3 separate regions of the Homo sapiens genome follow, and all the other regions are linked to region 1. Evidence: promoter capture Hi-C in human tissues and cell types (Jung and others, 2019). All regions are on one chromosome and are shown on one strand. The core of a region is centred on a gene start or on the middle of the fragment in contact, and the rest is flanking DNA. Distances in the headings are between cores, read along the strand shown.

The links. Contacts are between HindIII fragments. The study calls those that stand out against the background at their distance.
Region 2: a contact is called between a fragment that was not itself captured here and the fragment with the promoter of CDC27 in region 1, in 4 of the 25 tissues and cell types used here (H1 embryonic stem cells, heart left ventricle, lymphoblastoid cells and 1 more).
Region 3: a fragment that was not itself captured here is called in contact with the fragment with the promoter of CDC27 in region 1 in 1 of the 25 tissues and cell types used here (mesenchymal stem cells).

Annotation. Positions count from the first base shown.
Region 1 is chr17:47,187,851-47,190,833 of GRCh38, forward strand. CDC27 (cell division cycle 27) reads right to left here and starts at 1,445. Exons shown (of 19, transcript NM_001256.6): 1 at 1,296-1,445. The coding sequence starts at 1,322. It also overlaps a transcript of MYL4 not described here. RefSeq lists a silencer at 970-1,019 and enhancers at 1,053-1,649, 1,180-1,369. The HindIII fragment of the contact is 11,296 bases long and covers 1-2,983 here.
Region 2 is chr17:47,441,182-47,444,164 of GRCh38, forward strand. It overlaps EFCAB13 (EF-hand calcium binding domain 13), which reads left to right. Exons shown (of 25, transcript NM_152347.5): 25 at 1-131. Among named protein-coding and RNA genes, the nearest start is that of NPEPPS, 88 kb to the right of the region's middle. The HindIII fragment of the contact is 4,140 bases long and covers 1-2,983 here.
Region 3 is chr17:47,049,583-47,052,565 of GRCh38, forward strand. The region is part of intron 3 of LOC101927060 (a long non-coding RNA gene); the gene reads right to left. It also overlaps the pseudogene LRRC37A17P. Among named protein-coding and RNA genes, the nearest start is that of RPRML, 72 kb to the left of the region's middle. The HindIII fragment of the contact is 5,470 bases long and covers 1-2,983 here.

The DNA.
Region 1 (2,983 bases), core at 195-2,694:
TAAAAAAAAATCTTAAAAGAAACTATACTGGTAAAAAGAATTTGGATGGAAATAGCTCTAGAAAAACTAATACAACTTACAGACAGGTAAATTTCATAAGATATAATCTTACGTTTTATTAATTCAAACACTAATAGCTGCTATATGTAAACAGCTGGAGAAAAAAACCAAACTAGAAGAAATGAGTATTTCATGCTGTTTAGAAAAATGAAATAAATATGAAAGTAGTGATATATTAAAATATTTACTGTTTGATACCTCAAGCCTTTTAAGGGCAATATGAAGGAATTTCTAAAAATCAGTTTGCTTTATAACTTCAAAATAAAGTCCATGACTCAATGACAGCAGTTGATAGAGGTCAATTCTGATCAAGTTAAAGATCATATAGTGGGATGAAGTCTCCCAGACCTGGTCCATTACCAAGGCACAAAAGATACAGTTTCTCCAGATGTCAGGGGGGAAAATGACTTGGCACCGCATCACACACTTAAAATCCAATAGGGTTCCTTTAATGCAACACAGCACTGTGCGTCAAAGCATACCCTGGTGTAAAGGCAGTGAAATGGACAGAAACACCATTATTTGTGTTTCATTTCCTGAATGCCTTATAAACATGCACAACAAAATGCTCCTGATCCCCATCAGAGAGGATGAAAACAACCCAAATGTGCCCTTTCCACCTCCTCCCCTGGTATTGGTGCTTGCGCCTCAGCACTGAGGCTTGGAGTTGTCTTCTCAAACCATCATTGTCCGGTGGGAAATTCACCGAGAAAGGAAACGTGGGATAGGAAGTCTGTTACCAAAATAGAAATTAGTATTAAAAAGACCGATCCTACGCTCCCTCCACCCTCTCATACAAGACAAAATAAAAAAAACCTCCGTAAACTTGCCCTACCGTCACGAAGATCACACAAGCTCCGATCAAATGTGCTTCTCGATCATCTTTTAGGCAAGAGAGCGCTTGGGGTGCATTTTCGGCCCCTCATCTCCCACCCCCAGTCAAGCCAGGCCCCTGGACTGACAGGAAAGGCTGGCCGGACGTTGGCTCGGACGGGAAAGGCGGTTATTTTCGCCGAAGCCGCTCACGCTAAGGGTGAAGTAATGTAGGGCCAGAGGTAACACGGCTTAGGCTGTGGGCAAGGCCTCCGAACTGACTAAAGATAGGCAGGACACGGCAGCAGGGGAGGCGGGAGAAGCAGCCGGGCCTAGGCCGCACCAGGCCGCGGAGTGGCCCTACGCTGCTGCTTCCCGACCGAGGCTGCCAGCCAAGCCCCAGAGAAGAAGGTTATCATTACCTGGACGGGTTCCTGCAGCACCGTCATCCTCGAGGCTCAGGCCCACTTTCTGCAGTGCCTCAGGCCCCCCCTGTAGCGGCTCCGGCCCGGCCAGCCCCTGCTCATTTAAACTCACCAGCGACCGTTACCGGGGGATGGGGGAGGCCGAGCGATTGCCGAGTGCTTCCGAGCGGGACACGGGAATACCCGAAGTGGAGAAAGCCGAGCGGGAACCAGACGGAAAAGCCCGAAGGGAGTCGGAAATACCCGAGGTTGGTCGACGAGAGAGAAAACCGTTGCCGGAAATTGTCGAAGATTACCGGAAGCTACCGAGTCTGACCCAAAGCGTAGGTTTCTCTTCTCAGCCACGCCTTCAGCCACGCACACCACGCCCAATCGGCCGTCCCAGGGTTGGGCTACGCCAAATCTGCAACCAGCAGGCTGGGCGTGGCGTGACAGCGCGGGCGGGTAGCGTTACGTGGCGGGGCTGCAGTGTGGATTAGCCCCTCAGCCCTTTTGGATTAATTGGTGTGCTGTAGATTATGAAGCAAAGGGTGAAACAGCAGAGTTTGGGGCTGTCTTTAATGAATCAACAAGTATTTGTCTATTGAGTTTAGATCATTCGTCCATTCCAGAAGTATCTACTCACGGCTCTGGGGGAAAGCTAAAGAAATTTGGAAAGATTGCCACTCCCCAAAGACATAGGATAGCTTCTGTCTTCAAGGAGATTAAGGTCTATTTAAGGGAAAAGCAGTGTAACAGAGAACGCTATATTATATGGTGCCTATTATAAGTAATATAAAAATTCAGAGAGGGCAATTGTGATAAGATAAGGAAAGTTCTATGGAAGGAAAAAAAAGTTTAAAATGGAGTTTGAAGGATGGGTAAAATTAGAGGAAAAAGAAGTATAGGAAAGTGAAGGGAGGAAAAATGGGATCAGTCTGCTAAGAAGGCATTAATTGGAAATAGTTACTTAGGTGAAGAGATCATGGAAAAGCTCAATAGGCCATTAGAAATTTTTATTTTTGATAGGTGAGGCATTCCGCTGTGGTGGGAAGAGTAGGGGGTCGGAAATTCAGAGGCCTGGTTTTGAATTTTATCTTTAGCACTAACTAGTCATAGGTCCTTGGCAAATTACCTCTCTGAACTTATGTTCGCTTAGTTTGAAAAAAAAGGATTAAGAGAATTCGATGTATTATAAATGTGGCCGTGTCTAGCATGCAATGTAGACTCTCTCATATTTCCTTTCTGCTCCCCTTCTCCCCCCAAAAAGAGTGAACCAGGGGACTGTTTAAATTTTGTTTTTCAGCAGATGAGGAAACAGTTTTTGAAAGTTACTTTTCTAGTCAGGAGCTCTCTAGGCTAGATGTGAGAATCATGATATATTCCATTGCTTGGAAATTTCCCTTTGGGTGATGTTAGAGGGAGATATTTTTTCTTTCATTTTTAAAAACAAGGCTGACAGAGCTACACTGCATCCTTCTCCACCGCCTTGTCTTGTCACTGTATATATACTTATAGCCCCTAAAGGGCAGGTGCTAAGATGATTTTTGGCTGCCCTGTGCCCAGTTGCTTTAGCGGGATTATGCTGGATGACTTGAGTGGTAACAGACTTTTACACTGGCCTGGAAAGTAGCCATTAGCTATTTAAAGTTTAAGTTAAAATGAAATTAAAAATGAAGTTCTTCAGATGCCCTAGCCACATTCCA
Region 2 (2,983 bases), core at 150-2,649, 250 kb after region 1:
CATATACCTTGAATTTACTTTGTTTATACTCTCATTTATACTACCAACCCTCCCTAGAAAAAATGGATTCTGATTGGTTCTGGTTGCAGTATTACAAATTCCAAATAAAGCTTTATTTGAGGACCCCCAAAGTTGAGGTACTGATCCCTTTGGCTGTTTGTTTCCCACTAAGTTGTGTGTGTGTGTGTGTGTGTGTGTGTGTGTGTGTGTGTGTGTGTATGTGTAACCAACATTTTGTTGAATCAACAATGTACCATTAGTAAAGCTGCTGTGCAAAATTATCCCTCAGATCTGTTCTAAACTTACAGTTTAACTGATTTTATTGTCCTCACCTAAGGTTATACAATTCATTTTTTGGAAGAAAATACTAGGACATTAAATCAAGATGGTTACTTTTGCTATTTTGCTGAAGATTCATATTTAAATATAAATGAAGAAGTTAATCTACACATTAGAAGTGTTTTAAAAAATGTTTAAATTGATACATAATTGTACTTTCATTTATACATTGTATAATAATCAAATCAGTGTAAGTAGCAACCCATTGTGAACCCCAAATATCAGAAACAGGATTCAATTAATTTAGAAAGCTTATTTTTGCCAAGGTTAAGGGTGTGCCCATGACACAGACTTAGGAGGTCCTGACACATGTGCCTAAGGTGGTTGGGGCACAGCTTGGTTTTATACATTTTAGGGAGACATGAAATATCAATCAATACATGTAAGATGTACATTGGCCAGAAGGGCAGGGGAAAGACAATTTGAAGCGGGGAATTTCCTTATGGGCAAATTGTGAGGGAGTTAATGTAGCTTCTTCTTTTATTTTATTTTATTTTATTTTATTTTATTTTTTATCTCTGTTGCTATCTCCTTTAGGAATAGAATGGGAGGTAGGTTTGCCTGACACAGTTCCCAGCTTGACTTTTCCCTTTGGCTTAGTGATTTTGGGATACCGAGATTTATTTTCCTTTCACACCATCAGCTCAAACATTTATCATTTCTTTGTAGTGAGAACATTCAATACATTATTAACTATAGTCACCCTTTAATTTTTAAATAGACAAATACAAATTGTATGTACTGTATATTGCATGATTCAAAATATGTACATACATTGTGGAATGGCTAAATTGAATTAATTAACGTGTTTTACCTCACATACCTATTTTTGTGATGAGAACACAAAATCTTTTCTCTTAGCAATTTTCAAAAATATTATACATTGTTATTAACTGTAGTCACCATGTTATACAACAGAGCTCTTAACCTTATTGATTTTCTAATATTTTATTAAAGATTTTTGAGAGTATGTTTATGAGGGATATTGGTCTATAGTTTTCTTTTAGTGTCTTTTCCAGATTTTTTTGTTAGGGTTATGCTGACCTCATAAAATGAGTTGGGAAGTCTTCCCTCCCTTTTTTATTTCTGGTTGAGTTTGTGCATTAGTTGGTTCTAATGCTGCTAATAAAGAAATATCTGAGACTGGGTAAGTTATAAAAGAAAGAGGTTTAACTGACTCACAGTTCCATATGGCTGGGGAGACCTCACAATCATGGTGGAAGGCGAATGAGGAGCAAATTCACCTCTTACATGGCGGCAGGCAAGAGGGCTTGTGCAGGGGAACTCCCATTTATAAAAACCATTAAATCTCGTGAGACTTATTCACTTATGGGGACACTGCCCCCATGATTCGATTATGTCCACTGGCCCCACCCTTGACACTTGAGGATTATTACAATTCAAGGTGAGATTTGGGTGGGGACACAGCCAAACCATATCAGTTTATGATTATGATTAGGATTATTGTTTTCATTAAATGTTTGGTAGAATTCACCATCTATTCCTGAAGATTTAAAATATTGAGCTCTATTTATTCAATGGATATATAGCTCTTTAGAGCCTCCCTCTTCTAAATCTTTCTGTAGTTGTCACTATATCTTTCTGTAAGTATCATAAAGAAGAAATATACTTTCTATAAGTGGAACTGTGTCTTGTCAAAGTTTATTTTATGTAATTTGTCAGGTTTATTGTCATGAAATTGTTCATAATATCCCCTTATTATCCTTTTAATGTCTATAGTGTGATGTCTTATTTTTCATTCCTGATGTTTGTAATTTCTATTTTCTCTTTTTTGTTTGTAACCAGTCTTGCTAGGGAGTTATTAAATTTATTAATAATTTTACACAAATGGTGATTTTGTTAATTTTTGTTAACTTTTCTCTTTTGTTTTTCTTTTTCATTGGTTTATATTTTTATTGTTACTATCATTTGGTCTTTGTTTACTTTGGGCTTCATTTACCCTTCTTTGCTAGCTTGTTAAGATAGAAGCTTAGATAACTGATTTTTATCCTTTTCTAACATTAAAACTGCAAATTTTCCCCTAATATGTCTTTCATTGCATCTCACAAACGTTGTTATGTTGTGCTTTTTATCATTTACTAAAATATTTTCTAATTTACCTAATGATTTTTTCTTTGAAGTGTAGGTTATTTAGAAATGTAGTCTTTAATTTCCAAATATTGGGACATTTTCTAGATATCTTAATTATTATTGATTTCTAATTTATTTATTTCTTTTAGGGAGAGGGTCTTGCTTGTTGCTCAGGCTGGAGTGCAGGTGGCATGATCATGGTTCACTGCAGCCTCCAACTCTTGGGCTCAAGCAACCTCTTGCCTCAGCCTTGCAAGTAACTGGGACTACAGGCACACACCATTACACCTGGCTAATTTTAAACATTTTTTCTGTAGAGATGGGGTCTCATTTTGTGTTCCAGGCTGGTCTTGAGCTCCTGGGCTCAAGCATTTCTCCTGCCTTGGCCTCCCCAAGTGTTGGGATTATAGTTGTGAGCCACTGTGCCAAGCCTGATTTCTAATTTAATACATTTGGCCAGAGAATATATTTTGCATGATTTAAATTCTTAAATTAATTAAGATTTATTTATAGCCCTGGTTATGGTCTATCTAAGTGAATGTTCCATGTGTAC
Region 3 (2,983 bases), core at 129-2,628, 140 kb before region 1:
GAGCATCAGGAGGGAACAGGGTGCCCAGGCATCTGTGGAGAACGCTGCCGAAGAAAAAAGGCTCGGGAGTCCAGCCCCAAGGGAGCTGGAACAGCCTCACACACAGCAGGGGCCTGAGAAGTTAGCGGGAAACGCCATCTACACCAAGCCTTCGTTCACCCAAGAGCATAAGGCAGCAGTCTCTGTGCTGACACCCTTCTCCAAGGGCGCGCCTTCTACCTCCAGCCCTGCAAAAGCCCTACCACAGGTGAGAGACAGATGGAAAGACAACACACACACTATTTCCATTTTAGAAAGTGCAAAGGCTAGAGTTACAAATATGAAGGCTTCTAAACCAATTTCACATTCCAGAAAAAAATACCGCTTTCACAAAACTCGCTCCCGCATGACCCACAGAACACCCAAGGTCAAAAAGAGTCCAAAGTTCAGAAAGAAAAGTTATCTGAGTAGACTGATGCTCGCAAACAGGCCTCCGTTCTCTGCAGCGAAGAGCCTCATAAATTCCCCTTCACAAGGGGCTTTTTCATCCTTAGGAGACCTGAGTCCTCAAGAAAACCCTTTTCTGGAAGTATCTGCTCCTTCAGAACATTTTATAGAAACCACTAATATAAAAGACACAACTGCAAGAAATGCCTTGGAAGAAAATGTTTTTATGGAAAACACTAACATGCCAGAAGTCACCATCTCTGAAAACACAAACTACAATCATCCTCCTGAGGCAGATTCCGCTGGGACTGCATTCAACTTAGGGCCAACTGTTAAACAAACTGAGACAAAATGGGAATACAACAACGTGGGCACTGACCTGTCCCCCGAGCCCAAAAGCTTCAATTACCCATTGCTCAGTTTGAAATTCAGCTAACCCAGCAGCTACAGTCCCTTATCCCCAACAATGTGAGAAGGCTCATTTCTCATGTTATCCGGACCTTGAAGATGGACTGCTCTGGGGCCCATGTGCAAGTGACCTGTGCCAAGCTCATCTCCAGGACAGGCCACCTGATGAAGCTTCTCAGTGGGCAGCAGGAAGTAAAGGCATCTGAGATAGAATGGGATACGGACCAATGGAAGACTCAGAACTACATTAATGAGAGCACGGAAGCCCAGAGTGAACAGAAAGAGAAGTCGCTTGAGGTGAGGACCACACAGAAACATGAGACCCAGATTTCCCATCATTTAGCATATCCCAGGAAAGTGCCCACACAGAAGAATCTGGGACTCCCAGGCCATAGCTTATCTTGGCCATGTAACTTTGGTCATGACAGTGATCTCCCACTTTGCTCATGTAGAGAGTGAAATATAGATTAGGGCACAAGATGAACTGTAGGCCAGGGGTGGTAGCTCATGCCTGTAATCTCAGCACTTTGGGAGGCCAAGGTGGGTGGATTACTTGAAGTCAGGAGTTTGAGACCAGCTTGGCCAACATAGTGAAAGCCTGTCTCCACAAAAAATAAAAAAATTAGCTGGGTTGATGACACGTGCCTGTAGTCCCAGCTACTTGGGAGGCTGAGGTGGGAGGGTCACCTGAGCCCAGGGAGGTCGAGTCTAGTGAACGGTGATTGCACCACTGTACCCCAGCCTGGGTAACAGAGTGAGACCCTCTTTCAAAAAAATAAAAAAGAACCTGTAAGCTACTCACCTGGAATACTGGGGTTTTGAATAGTTAGCTCTCATTCTGGTGTGTTTTTTTTTGTTTTGTTTTTTTGTTTTTTTTAGCTCACAAAATAAGTTCCAGGATATGGCTATACTGACAAACTCATCTTGGCATTAATTGTGACTGAAATACTAATGATTTTTATTATACTTTTCTGCCTCATTGTGGTAAGGACAATAATTAATTCAGGTTGTCAGAATGCAGTCCTGTTTCTGTGTGGATTCAGAGCTCACAAACTGAAAACCAAAGCCACTTTCCCACCTGCTGCTACTTGACATACTTCTTCAGTCATTTAAGGCTGAGGTGTATGCTTTGTTCTTTTATTGCAGTGTATATTTCAGGATTTTTAAAAGATCCTCGCTTCCAGATCTCTGTGAATTGAAACCAAGTTAATCCCACTAGACTATTTTAAGAAGTCGATATAATAGCAAAATTTCTCCACCCAAAACTATGTCAACAATTGGATGTACTCATCAAGTCACCCTTACTCTGCCACTAATTTATTTCCTTGGTGCTGAAATGATGAGAGAGGTATAATCTCCACCCTCACGGATTTGTCATCACCCTGGAGAGGAAGGAGAGAGCCAAAAGACAGAAGTATTGTCTTGTAGACTTATTAGATTTACACAGTATCGTCCTCCAGTGTGTAAGGCATTGTCTAAATAGGTCCAGTTAAAGCACTACAGAGTAGCCATCTTTTACAAAAATTGTTGGCCACATTTTTAAGTTCACAGGCGAGGGGGAACGTCTCATACTCTAGCCCTCCTGAGCCTAGACCCTCTGTGAGATGTGTCACCATTTCTTGGACACCATGTGAGACATTCCCCCTCAGATTAGAGATGCTCAGCCTGCATCAACTTATCTAAAGCCTACATCTGGCTACTCTGGGGCAAGTCCTGTTTACAGTGCCCATTCCTGGAGCTTGCCTCTGTTTGTCTTTTGTTCGATTACATGATATATTACTTTTCCCAACAGGCCAGTGCTAGCATATTGGAAGAGTGATTTAATAAAGCTGGCAACCTTGACGCTATGCCACCAGTCCAACCTTATTTGCCTCATTTACCATTTCCATTATTGTGGCAGCCCTCCATTCCAGCCACAGCAGCCCCTCACTATACCCCAGTCACACCACCCACATTTCTGCTTCTGTCTGTGTGTTTGTCCATCTAAAATGCCCTTATTTCACTCTGCCTGTGGGAGTCCTATGCATCTCTCAAAAGCCAACACAAGTTCATCTTTCTTCTTGACACCTTCCCTGAATATTCCAGCCGTGCTGAGCCTAGTCCCTTTGTGAGATTTGTCACCATTTCTTGGACACCATATGAGAGACTT